Regions from separate parts of the Homo sapiens genome. Here region 1 is linked to region 2. Evidence: promoter capture Hi-C in human tissues and cell types (Jung and others, 2019). All regions are on one chromosome and are shown on one strand. The core of a region is centred on a gene start or on the middle of the fragment in contact, and the rest is flanking DNA. Distances in the headings are between cores, read along the strand shown. Region 1 overlaps CRYBG2 (crystallin beta-gamma domain containing 2). Region 2 holds the start of CATSPER4 (cation channel sperm associated 4).

Region 1 (6,329 bases), core at 3,456-5,955, 130 kb before region 2:
CCAGTGGCTGGTGGGAAGCTGCGAGATCACCAACTGGCTGACCTACAGCGGCACCCAGAGGGTGGGCTCCCTCTACCCCATCAAGCAGGTGGGTAGCGTGGCTGGAGCTGAGCGTGTCTGGGGCTGAGCGTGTCTGGGCAGGCCTTTCTGGATGAGTGTCTAGCTGTGTGTTTCCCAAACACAGCATTTGTGTACTTTTGTCACAACTTTTGCCACATCGTCATTCCTCTTGAGCCATTGTCTACTTAATATTTTTCTCTAGATTAACTCTCTTTTTAAAAGTCTTTTAATTAATTTTTATTTCTTAAAAAAAGCTTTTTTTTCTCTTTCTTTTTCTTTTTTTTTTTTGTGTGACAGAGTCTTGCTCTGCCACAAAGGCTGGAGCGCAGTGGCAACATCCTGGCTCACTGCAGCCTCCACCTCCCGGGTTTAAGTGCTTCTTGTGCCTCAGCCTCCCAAGTAACTGGGACCACAGGCACGTGCTACCACGCTCAGCTAATTTTTGTATTTTTAGTAGAGGCAGGGTTTCACCATGTTGGCCAGACTGGTCTCCAATTCCTGACCTCAAGTGATCCACCTGCCTCGGCCTCCCAAAGTGCTGGGATTACAGACGTGAGCCACCATGCCCAGCCCTTTTTTTTTTTTTTGAGATGGAGTTTTGGTCTTGTTGCCCAGGTTGGAGTGCAATGGCACGATCTCGGCTCACTGCAACCTCCGCTTCCCAGATTCAAGTGATTCTCCTACCTCATCCTCCGAAGTAGCTGGGATTACAAGTATGTGCCACCACATCTGGCTAATTTTTGGTTTTTTTTTTTGTTTTTTGTTTTTTGAGACGGAATCTCGCACTGTCACCTGGGCTGAAGTGCAATGGCGTGATCTCGGCTCACTGCAACCTCTGCCCCCTGGGTTCAAGCAATTCTCCTGCGTCAGACTCCCAAGTAGCTGGGATTACAGGTGCCTGCCACCACACCCGGCTAATTTTTTGTATTTTTAGTAGAGACGAGGTTTCACTGTAATTGGCCAGGTTGGTCTCGAACGCCTGACTTGTGATCTGCCCACTTCGGCCTCCCAGAGTGCTGGGATTACAGGCATGAGCCACTGCGCCTAGCTAATTTTTGTATTTTTAGTAGAGATGGGGTTTCATCATGTTGGCCAGGCTGGTCTTGAACTCCTGACCTCATGTGATCTGCCCACCTTGGCCTCCCAAAGTGTTGGGATTACAGGCATGAACCACTGTGCCCAGCCCCAGCCCAGTTTTTATTTAGCTTTCTGAGTCTGTGCTTGTGCCTTCAACACTTTCATAAGGATTTTTAGCTGCTGCATAAGGAAAGCAGGCTTGATCCTGCCACGAACACATTTAGCATACCTGGAACCACCATAGGCCCTCCTGACATGTTTTTTGTTTTGGACAATCTCATAAGAACTTTAGACCTCACAACATGAACCCCTTGAAGTCTGCCTGGGCACACGCCACATGCAGATTTTGGTGCTTTCCCAACTTTGTAGGTATAGAGGTCAACAATTCTATTACGAGGGGCTCAGGACAGCCTAGTTTTGTTAGAGGCTGTACCGTAGGAAAGCCTATGACAATATGTCAAATGCTGGAACATTCTCAGTGCCTCTAGACAATATCCCCAGAAGAGGAAAAAGAAAAAAATCACATTTTTTTTAACTTTATCCTTGTCCTAAGGAATAATATCCATAAAGTCATGAGTTTGATGTGTACATATGATTTTCTTTCTTTTTTTTTTTTTTTGAGACAGAGTCTTCTTGCTCTGTCGCCCAGGCAGGAGTGCAGTGGCATGATCTCGGCTCACTGCAAGCTCTGCCTCCCGGGTTCATGCCATTCTCCTGCCTCAGCCTCCTGAGTAGCTGGGACTACAGGCACCCGCCACCATGCCCGGCTAATTTTTTTGTATTTTTAGTAGAGATGGGGTTTCACCATGTTAGCCAGGATGGTCTCGATCTCCTGACCTCATGATCCGCCCGTCTCAGCCTCCCAAAGTGCTGGGTTTACAGGTGTGAGCTACCATGCCCAGCCTGATTTTTTTTCTTAATAGATGTAATAAATACATTGCCATTAATTTTTCAAAAATGAGTTTATAGGCTGGGTGCGGTGGCTCACTCCTGTAATTTCATCACTTTGGGAGGCCGAGGAGGGAGGGTTGCTTGAGCCCAGGAGTTCGAGACCAGCCTGGGCAACATGGCGAGACCCCATCTCTACAAAAAATACAAAAGAAATGAGCTAGGTGTGATGGCTTGTGCTATAGTCCCAGCTACTCGGGAGGATCACCTGAGCCCAGGAGTTTGAGGCTACAGTGAGCCATGATGGCTCCACTGGTACTCCAGCGTGGGTGACAGAGCGAGACCCTGTCTCAAAAAAAAAATAGTTTAGCCACATAGGACTGAAAGTGATCTCATGGACCACCCACTGGTAGTAAGCATACCTCACTTGGGGAAGCACTGCCTGCATATGTGTTTCTGTATGTCCGTGCCTGCATGTCTGAACATCAGTATCATTAATGCACATGTGCAGATAAATGGTAAGGCCATGGGCTCTGTGTGTATGTGTGTGTGCATGCATGTTCCCATCTGAGGGTATTTCTGTGCTCATCAGGTTATTTGTGTCCATGCATCTGTGTGCTCTGGTGATGACCTGTGTGTGTGTGTGTGTGTGTGTGTGTGTATCTGTGGGAGTGCATTCATTTTTTTAATTTTTATTAATTAATTTATTTTTGAGATGGAGTCCTACTCTGTCACCCAGGCTGGAGTGCAGTGGTGTGATCTCGGCTCACTGCAACCTACATCTCCCGGGTTCAAGCGATTCTCCTGCCTCAGCCTCCCGAGTAGCTGTGATTACAGGCGTGTGCCACCACACCTGGCTAATTTTTTTGTATTTTTGGTACAGACAGGGTTTTGCCATGTTGGCCAGGCTGACCTCGAACTCCTGACCTCAGGTGATCCACCCGCCTTGGCCTCCCAAAGTGCTGGGATTACAGGCGTGAGCCTCCGCGCCCGGCCGGGATTGCATTTATGACTGCGCATGCTTGTACTTGTGACACCATTGACAGTGTGTGTATCTTTGTATAAGGATATTTGTGTAGTTCTTGTATTCAAGACTCATAACATCATTGCTGGGAGAAATCTTGGAGATTATCTCCACCCCTCACATTTTACAGATGGGGAAATAAAGGCCCAGAGAAGTGGACACGGATTTGCTCTGCAATCTTGGGCAAGTACTGTACCTCCTTAGACCTTCGTTTCCTCATCTTTAAAATGAGGATAACACGTGTCATGGGTCAGTTTTGAGGACTGAAGATAATGTAGGTAAAACATTATTAGAACAGTGCTTGAGTGAGTCAGCTCTCAACAAACGTTAGCTGTGATTATTGTTATTACTATTATTACTTTTGCTACCATCTAAGAGCTCCAGCTGATTTATGGCAGAGCCATGTCTGATGTCTGACAGTCCAGTGTCCATCCCGTCAGGAACCCTCTTCAACACAGGTGTGTGTGCATTTCTTTCTGTAAGTGTGTGTGCACATCTGTATGCCCACACACATCCACGCTTTTAGCAAGCAGAACTGCCTGGTATGGAGTAGACTGCATGGATCTATGGTTAGAACATGTGAGTTGGATGGCTGCATGTATCCATGTGTTTGTGTCTTCTGTGAACTTCTGTGCCATCATGTGTACCAGAGGTGTATCTGTCAGTTTGTCCCTCTGCACACATCTGTGGGTACCTCTATGACCATGGAACTGTGTGTGTGTGTGTGTGTGTGTGTGTGTGTGAGAGAGAGAGAGATACATGTGCTCTCCGTATGTGTGTGTAAAGAAGCAGTGACTTAGAAATAGAGTCAAGGAAGGTTTGGGGACAGGAGGGAGGGCTTGGGAGCCTGATACTGGAGAGTCCAGAGTTGAGGGTACTGGGGGCCCAGGTCATCCCTCCCCGGCACCCCTGACTCTCAGCCTCTTTCTGCCACCAGCGCCGGGTTTATTTCCGCCTCTGGAATGCAGCACTGGGGGGATTCCTGGCAGTGCCGGACCATGTGGAGGACATGAAAGCAGGCCGTGTGGTGGTCGCCGACCCCCAAGCTGGAGGTAGCTGCATCTGGTACTACGAGGATGGGCTGCTGAAGAACCAGGTACTGATACAGGGGCTGGCACAGGGACACCCTGGCCCTAGGCATTTGCAGGTCCACTCTGGGGAGTCCCAGCCCAATCAGGAACACAGAGGGATGCACACAGAAGCCAGGACCCTGGGGAGAGGGAGAGTGCAGACTGTTCCCCCTGGGCAAGTCGTGCTCTTCTCTGGGCCCCAGTCTGTAAAAACAAGAGCAATGAACTGGGTGCTTCTAAGGGACCTCCCAGCTCTAATGCCCATGACAGAACTTGAACCCTATTAATAATGGTAGATTTGGCCAGGCATGGTGGCTCATGCCTATAATCCCAACACTTTGGAAGGCCGAGGCAGGAGGATTGCTTGAGGACAGGAGTTTGAGGCCAAACAAAAAATTAACTGGGTGTGGTGGTGCATGCCTGTAGTCTCAGGTACTCAAGAGGCTGAGGTGGGAGGCTTGAGCCCAGGAGTTAGAGGCTGCAGTGAGTGAGGATTGCGCCACTGCACTCCAGCCTTGGTGACAGCACAAGACCTGGTCTCAAAAAAAAACAAAAATAAAAATAAGAGAAAAGGTAGATTTACTCCACAGACATTTCTTGAGCACCTACTATGTGCCAGGCTCTGTTCTAGATGCTGGGGATACAGCAGTTATAGACAGAATTGACACCTGCCGTCCTGAAGCTTACATCCTAGTGGGGAGAGATAGACAGAAATAACTTAAATGGGCAGAATATCTTAGTGTCTTACAGGATGAAAGTTCAATAGAGGAAGATAAATCATGAAAGGGGAATAGGCCAGGTGCAGTGGCTCACTCCTGTAATCACAGCACTTTGAGAGGCTGAGTGAGGCAGGAGGATCTCTTGAGCTCAGGAATTCAAGACCAGCCTGGGCAGCATAATGAGATGCCATCTCCACAAAAAATAAAAAAACTAGCCGGATGTGGTGGCATGCACCTGTAGTCCCAGCTACTCAGGAGGCCGAGGTGGGAGGATTACGTGAGCCCAGGAGATTGAGGCTGCGGTAAGCTATGATCACACCACTGCACACCAGCCTGGGCAACAGAGGGAGACTCTGTCTCAAAAAAAAAAAAAGGAGAATAGAAAGTATCAGGTATGGTAGGGGAGCCTTTCCGAAGAAGATGACATTTGAGGGAGGCAGCCATGCAGATATCTGAGGGAAGAGTGTTCCAGGCAGAGGGAACAGCCAGTGCAAAGGCCCTGAGGAAGGAACATGCCTGGGATTTTTCTGGGCTAGCAAGGCTAGCTGGGTGGCTAGAGTGAGTTGAGTAAGGGGGAGGTAGCAGGAGATGAGGCCAGAAAGGTTATAAGGACTGTAGGTCTTTGTAGGCCATTGAGAGGTTTTGTCTTTTACTTAGAATGAGAGAGATGGCTGACCACATGCCAGGCTCTGCATTGAGTTCTTCACACAAATGCCTCCTATAATCTTTAGTCTAGAGTACCGTGGGGCAGGTCTTTTTATACTCCCCATTTTACAGGTGAGGAAACCAGAGCATAGAGAGGTTAGGTAATTTGCTGAAAGTCACACAGCTAGTAAATGTGTAGAGATTTGTCTGATGCTAAAGCCTATGCTTTGGAAGCCAATCATGGAAGGATTCCTGGAGGAGTTAATATTTTTCCAGCCCTTTTATGTTTTCTCACACTGAACCCTCACAAAAGCCAGCATTTGGGGATTCCCATCCCCGAGAGGAAACTGAAGCTGAGGAGGATTAAGAGACTTGCCCAGGGCCACAGTCCCTAAGAGCCAGGATTCAGAGCAGATGGGTCAAGGGTTTCTTGGGTACAGTAGAGTCCCTGTGGGGAGGAACAATGCCTGATGACCTCCTGGGGCCTCAGATGGCCCCCACCATGAGCCTACAGGTGATTGGACCCCCTAGCCCAGGCTCCAAGGTGGTGCTGTGGGCCGAGAGCCGCCTGCCGCGCCAGACGTGGAGCATCAGTGAATCGGGCCACATCTGCAGCCAGATGTTCGAAGGCCAGATCCTGGACGTGAAGGGTAAGGTGGGATGTATGGGGAAGAGGGCTCCTGAGGGGGCTGAGAGCCATGGAGTCCCAGCTCTCTCTGACTATCTCCCTATCTTTTAATCCCCATCCCACCCCCAGGAGGCCGGGGCTACGACCGGGACCACGTGGTGCTATGGGAGCCGGATGAGGACAGGGCATCCCAGATCTGGACTATCCACGTGCTTTGA
Region 2 (6,282 bases), core at 3,659-6,158:
AAAGAAAAAGAAAAAGAAAAAAGAGCCTGGCATCTCCCATCTCCCCTCTCACTCTCTCTCTTTCTTCCTGTCTCGCCATGTGATCTGCACATGCTTCACCTTCTGCCATGAGTGGAAGCAGCCTGAAGCCCTCACCAGAAGCAGATGTTGGCACCATGCTTCTCACACAGCCTGCCGAACTGGGAGCCAAATACAACTCCTTTCTTTATAAGTTATTCAACCTCGGGTATTCCTTTATAGCAACACTAAATGGACAAAGACAATAAAAAAGAGACTATAAATATAAAAACATTACCTAGAAAGGATAGTGGTGGGAGAAGAGGGATGAGGGGACAAAAGAGAAGCAAGAATTCTGTGTGTACCTTTCAACATAGTTTTGACCAGCATGTATCTGCATTAAATATTCAAAAAGAAAACTTTTTTTTTGAAACAGAATCTCTCTCTGTCGCCCAGGCTGGAGTGCAGTGGCGCAATCTCAGCTCACTGCAAACTCCGCCTCCCGGGTTCAAGTGGTTCTCCTGCCTCGGCCTCTAAGTAGCTGGGATTACAGGCACGCGCCACCACGCCCAGCTAGTTTTTGTATTTTTAGTAGAGACGAGGTTTCACCATGTTGCCAGTCTGTCTCAAACTCCTAGCCTCAAGTGATCCTCTTACCTCAGCCTCCCAAAGTGTTGGGATTACAGGCATGAGCCACTGCAGCCAGCAAGAAAACTATACTTAATGAAAAAAAAAAGTTCTTCAATGTATTGGGGGTCCAGTAAGCACAAGTCCTCCTGGCCTCTCGTACTGAGTCTGCACCTTCACATACACAAGGAGATACAAGTCTGCCTGTCTGCAGATCCATCCATATATCAATTCAGCATGTAGCTCCTGTTGTGTGCCATACCCAGATCCAGTTCCTGAGAATATAGGATGCCTGCCCTGTTAGGCTCACAGACTATTTTGAGGAAGATGGATAAACAGAAAATTTTAACTCCATGCAAAAAAAATAAGTGCATAGCATCATGGAGACACAAAGCAGCACCTAACCTAGCCTGGGAGAGACAAGAAGACTTCCTGGAAGAGAAGACATCTGAATGAGTTTGTAAGTAGGAGTAAAGCAAGTGAATAGGGAAAATCAGATTTTATAACACATGAAAATTACATGAAATTCCAATTTGGGTGTCCACGAACACAGCCATGCCCACTTCATTTATGTGTGGTCCATGGTTGCTTTTGTGCTGCCATGGCAGAGGTGAGTCATGGTAACAGAGGCTGTACAGCCATGAAGCTTAAAATCTTTATTATCTGGTCCATTACAGAAAAAGTGTGCTGATCCCTGTTGATCTCTGTAAATTAAGGTAGATGCTTTCAGCCCCATTTCTCAGACAAGGAAGTCAGGTTTGTCCAAGACTACAGAGCTGGGGAAGGCTGGAGCAGGGATTGGAATTGGAGCCCAGGGAGGCTGCACTTCTAGTACCAGTTACTTTCTGCCACATCATACACATCTCTGAACTAACACACTCTGTCTACACACACACACATACTCACACCCTCAGTTTGTAGGGCCAGGAGTACAGGGGCAGACTGGGTGGTGTGCAGTCCCCAGGGGGAAGTAGGGGCAAAGGGCTCAGGATCTCACCTTCCAGAAAATCCAGAAGCCATTGAGCCAGCCAAGGAGAACCTCACAAAGAAGGATGGTCAGCACAATGTCATCTATGGTAGAGAACAACTCATAGTGTTTCTACATGGGAGACAGAGAAAAAAGAGGGGCAGAGAGGTCAGTGGAGCAGGGCCTGGGCAAGCCGGCAGGGAGAGGATGTATGTAGGGGAGGGAAGTCCCGTATCACTGCTGCTCTTGGTCCTCAGCAACCTTGTCACTTCCTTTAAAACACACTTTGCCTGTGCGTGCCAGGCACTGTGCTGGGGCTATCACACATCACTTCATGTTACCATCACTGTTGTCCTGCAAAGTAGGTTTTATTCCCGTCTTACAGAAGTGGAATCAGAGTGGCGCCTGTGTGCACAGCTAGTTGATAAAGATGGTTGTCTGACTATGAACTTTTGTCCCTAACTTCTAGAATAGGGATATTTTGGAGAGGGAGGTAGGAGAGGCAGAACAGCCTCCAGGATTGGGAGGAAAAGGCCTGGCCTCTGAGGGTGGAGAACACCAAGCTCCATCTGTCCTAACCTCTCCTGCTATTCCAGCTCTCCAAATACTCCAAGTTAGGCCTGACCAAACTCCTGGGTATCCTGCCACTCATGGGTCCAGGACATGCACCCTGGATGGATGAATTGGTAGATGGGTGACTGGGGTCTGTCCAGAGCCCAATTCACTTTCTCTCAACCTCGAAACTCCTTCAGCTTCCTTATGGCTGCGACCCCACTAACAGCCCCCATAGTGCCCGACTCCACCTAGCAGTCACCCAAGTCACCGTGTCTCCTCCCTTTCTTTCTTTTTTTTTTTAATGTGACATCTCAGCTCACTGCAAACTCCGCCTCCTGGGTTCAAGCGATTCTCCTACGTCAGCCTCCCAAGTAGCTGGGATTATAGGCGTGCGCACCATGCCTGGCTAATTTTGTATTTTTGTAGAGATGGGGTTTCACCACGTTGGTCAGGCTGGTCTCGAACCCTTGACCTCAAGTGATCTGCCTGTCTTGACCTCTCAAAGTGTCCTCCCCAAAAGTGCGCTTTACCCCAAAGTGCAACAGACTCAGTGCCTTAGGGCCCACTGTCACATATGGCCACTGGAGACAATAGGACATCCACACCATTATTCAAAAAAGCATTCTAAATAGTCCTCAGCCCAGCATGGTGGCTCACACCTATAATCTCAGCACTTTGGGAGGCCAAGGCTGGAGGATTGCTTGAGCCCAGGAGTTCCAGACCAGCCTGGGCGACAGAGCGAGAACCTGTCTCTACAAAAAAAATTTTTTTTTTGAGATAGAGTCTCGCTCTGTCGCCCAGGCTGGAGTGCAGTGGCACAAACTCGGCTCACCGCAACCTCCGCCTCCCTGCTTCAAGCGATTATCCTGCCTCAGCCTCTCAAGTGGCTGGGATTATAGGCGCCCACCACCATGCCTGGCTAATTTTTGTATTTTTAATAGAGACGGGGTTTCACCATGTTGGCCAGGCTGGTCTTGAACTCCTGACCTCAGGTGATCCACCCACTTTGGCCTGCCAAAGTGTTGGGATTACAGGCATGAACCACTGCGCCTGGCTCAAAAACATTTTTTTAATTAGGCATGGTAGCTCGTGCCTGTAGTCCTAGCTACTTGGGAGGCTGAGGCAGGAGGATCACTTGAGTCCAGGAGTTCAAGGCTGCATTGAGCCAAGATGGCGCCACTGCACACCAGCCTGGGTGACAGAGTGAGACCTTGTCTCTAAAAAAAAAAAAAAAGAAATTAAAACATCAAGGATAAGTCACACTAAACTTCAAGTTGGACACAGAGAAGTCTCTCACATGCTGTTTCTTTTCCCCAAAAAGTCTCCCCCACCTCTCTTTGCCTGGCCAACTCCTACGTGCTCTTTTTTTCTGTTTCTTTGTTGTGGTGACTGAGATCACATCCTACTTCTTTACTCTCAGCTCCAGTGTCACTTTCTCCAGGAAGCCAGCTCTGACCCCTGAGATTAGGTTCGAGTGCCTTCGTTGAGCCTCCATGTACTCTGGGTGCTACTTGAGCACTTGTAATGACAGTTTCTGTGTGTCTGAGACAGGACCCAGTTGTGCTTATTATCCCTGGGACCCTGGCAGTCTGCACAGTCAGTGCCTGGCACTGAGTGATTCTCCCTTAGTGACTGCTGGTTAGAATTGGATACCCCTTCTCCACAAGGCACCCATTTGCCTCCCTCTGCTCACACCATTCTTCTCCTGTCCCTCCTGTACAAATCCAATGCATTCCTCAAAGCCAGGCTGCAGAGCCCTCTCCATCATGAAGTCTTCCTTGATCTCCAGATTCCTAGAAGGTCAGAGCTGACAGACCCTTGAAGAGCATCCAATCCAACCATCATAGACAGATGAGGAGCCTGAGGCCGGAAGAGTTCTTGCCCCAGGCCCCCCATTAGGGTTAGTGGGGCAGAGGTCATGCTGGCATCCCACCTGGTCCAGGTAGGAGTTGGTACGGAGAGCGATGGTGATGGCATTGATCACCAGCAGCAGGGCCAGCAGCAGTTGGAAGGCGGGGTGTCGGAGCAGCTGCTTGATGTACATGTGAGTGATGAACTCCTGCATGTCCCAGGCGTCCTGGAAGAGGGCAGGACCTTCCTTCAGGCAGGTGTCACCATAGGAAGCCTCTGCCTGGGGGTTTGCTCTTAGAGAATGGGGGTTCCTGGGGCCCACTCTAGAGGGGGGAAATCATCTGAGAGTGGATCATGGAATGGAGACATCAGTGTAGAGATCACTATCTAAATGGCCACTAAAAGTGGGTTACTATCGGGGGATTTTGTGGAAGTCATTGCCAGAGAATCTCTTTGGGCTCTCTGATAGTGAAGATGATCGTTATATAAGGGTTCCTATGGGGGGCATTGCCAGAGAGTTACTAACATATCATGGGCAGTCACTCAGGGATCAGTGCTAGGGAGGGTCTTCTGGGGGCGTTTAGAGGGTAGAGGGGCAGAGTTACCATGAGGGCCTGCTGCCCATGAGCACAGCTGCAGAAGGGGCCACTGTGGGGCGAGAGCTATCCTTACCGCTTTGTTCGTGATTTCCTGGCGGTTGATGAGCACTTGCTCCTCTGGCCGACCGTAGGACTCGTGAATGGTACTCTGCAGGGGAGAGGGGCGGCCCCTCAGTGCAGCTACTGCCCCTCCAAACCCCATACGGTCCTCCTGAGTCCCGCCCCACCCCTCGAGGCCTGTATGGGAGGTCCATTGCTGCCACCAGGCCTTTTCATTATCCCTCATGTTTGCTCAGTCTCTTCCTTCTCCTCAAAGAATCTTCACTCCAAGTGGTCTCACTCCCCCTCGTGGTGATATCACAGAGGCCTCTGTGACCTCCAGCCGTCTGCATTCTACTGAGGAATTCCAACCTGGAGAGAAGCTCCTCCCATTGGCCCTCCTCCGCATCCCACAGAGGAAGTCTGGGGATGCTGTGGGGATGCTGGGCTGGGGTTGGAAGTCAGAGGCTGATGGGAGCAGGTCAGATTTCCCGTGCAGCCTGAATGGAGTCACAGGGACATGTCCCTGCCTTGGATCCAGGAGGTGGAGGTGAGGCTGGAATGAGGAGTGAAGGAGAGAAGTGTTTTCCCCAGGGCCTTCCCAGGGCAGACCTCAACCTGCACCCTTCCCCACCAGCTGCCCTGTCCTACCAGCCCAGTCTCCAGGACTGTCCCCACCACCTTTCCGTGCAAAGTGCATTTCCCCATCTACAAAGTGGAAGTTTCTCATTGTGTGCCCCCCGGGAATGGGGTAGGAGATCACCATTAGCCTTCAAAGAGCTGGGGAGAGGTGGACATGAGTCGGAGCCCTCATTAGCCATGGGTCATCCCCCACCATCCTGGCAGGCTTGGAGCTCGGGTACAGAGCCCAGGCCAACGGGCTGCACGAAGGGTCTGCCACCCACCCTCTGGCCAAGAGCACTCACCCCAGTCCCCACAGGGGGGCAGATTTCCAATTCGAATATGGAAGTAAAGTTACATGTAGACTCATTCTTAGAAAAATTGACTTTATTTGGTTGGAAAGTAGCCCTCATGTAAAATAAAGAACACCTGTACAGACCTGGTTTGGGGGAGAACTGCCAAGGAACTGGAGGGGCAGGGCTGTGGCCCCAGAGGTTGGAGGATTTGGGGGGAGAGTTTCTTCTTTGGCAAGGGAGAGGGTGGCACAAAGCCCAGGCAGAGGGGTCAGCTCGGGGTGAGACCATGACTAGCAGTACTACTTCCCACCCTGAACAGAATCCAGGGATGCTCTGTCCTGGACACGTCAGAAGCTGGGGTTGAGGTGGCCCTCGGGTCAAAGGTCAGGAGCTAGAGTGCTGGCCAGGGTCAGAGGTCAGGAGGTCGGAGGCTGCTCTCTGAGGTCAGGGGGCAGAGATGGGAGTGCTCTTCAGGGTCAGAGGGCAGGGAGTGGGGGGACTGTTCTGTGGAGTCAGAGGTCAAGATGTGGGAGCTGCCTTCAGCCTGTGCCACTCCCCAGGCCCCCAGGCCCTCTGAGTACAGCTCCCGGTTCTGCTCCTTCCACTGGCGGAACTTCTCTCCTGTCAGCTCAGGGTCACCCAGCACTTCTTCTAGGACCTGCAGCTCCTGCAGCTTTGCCTGTGTGGAGAGGAGGGGCTAAGGGACCATGATCACCCAGGGAAGTGGGCA

What was found. Contacts are between HindIII fragments. The study calls those that stand out against the background at their distance.
Region 1: a fragment that was not itself captured here is called in contact with the fragment with the promoter of CATSPER4 in region 2 in 1 of the 25 tissues and cell types used here (mesenchymal stem cells).

Annotation. Positions count from the first base shown.
Region 1 is chr1:26,321,968-26,328,296 of GRCh38, reverse strand. CRYBG2 (crystallin beta-gamma domain containing 2) reads left to right here. Exons shown (of 20, transcript NM_001039775.4): 17 at 1-88; 18 at 3,987-4,145; 19 at 5,974-6,133; 20 at 6,241-6,329. The coding sequence ends at 6,329. It also overlaps the pseudogene RPL34P4. Among named protein-coding and RNA genes, the nearest start is that of CD52, 7.2 kb to the right of the region's middle. RefSeq lists an enhancer at 6,052-6,329. The HindIII fragment of the contact is 4,294 bases long and covers 2,559-6,329 here.
Region 2 is chr1:26,189,228-26,195,509 of GRCh38, reverse strand. CATSPER4 (cation channel sperm associated 4) reads right to left here and starts at 4,908. Exons shown (of 10, transcript NM_198137.2): 1 at 4,670-4,908; 2 at 4,080-4,223; 3 at 1,622-1,723. The coding sequence starts at 4,882. CNKSR1 (connector enhancer of kinase suppressor of Ras 1) reads right to left here. Exons shown (of 21, transcript NM_006314.3): 21 at 5,626-6,231. The coding sequence ends at 5,962. RefSeq lists an enhancer at 4,205-5,022. The HindIII fragment of the contact is 15,004 bases long and covers 1-6,282 here.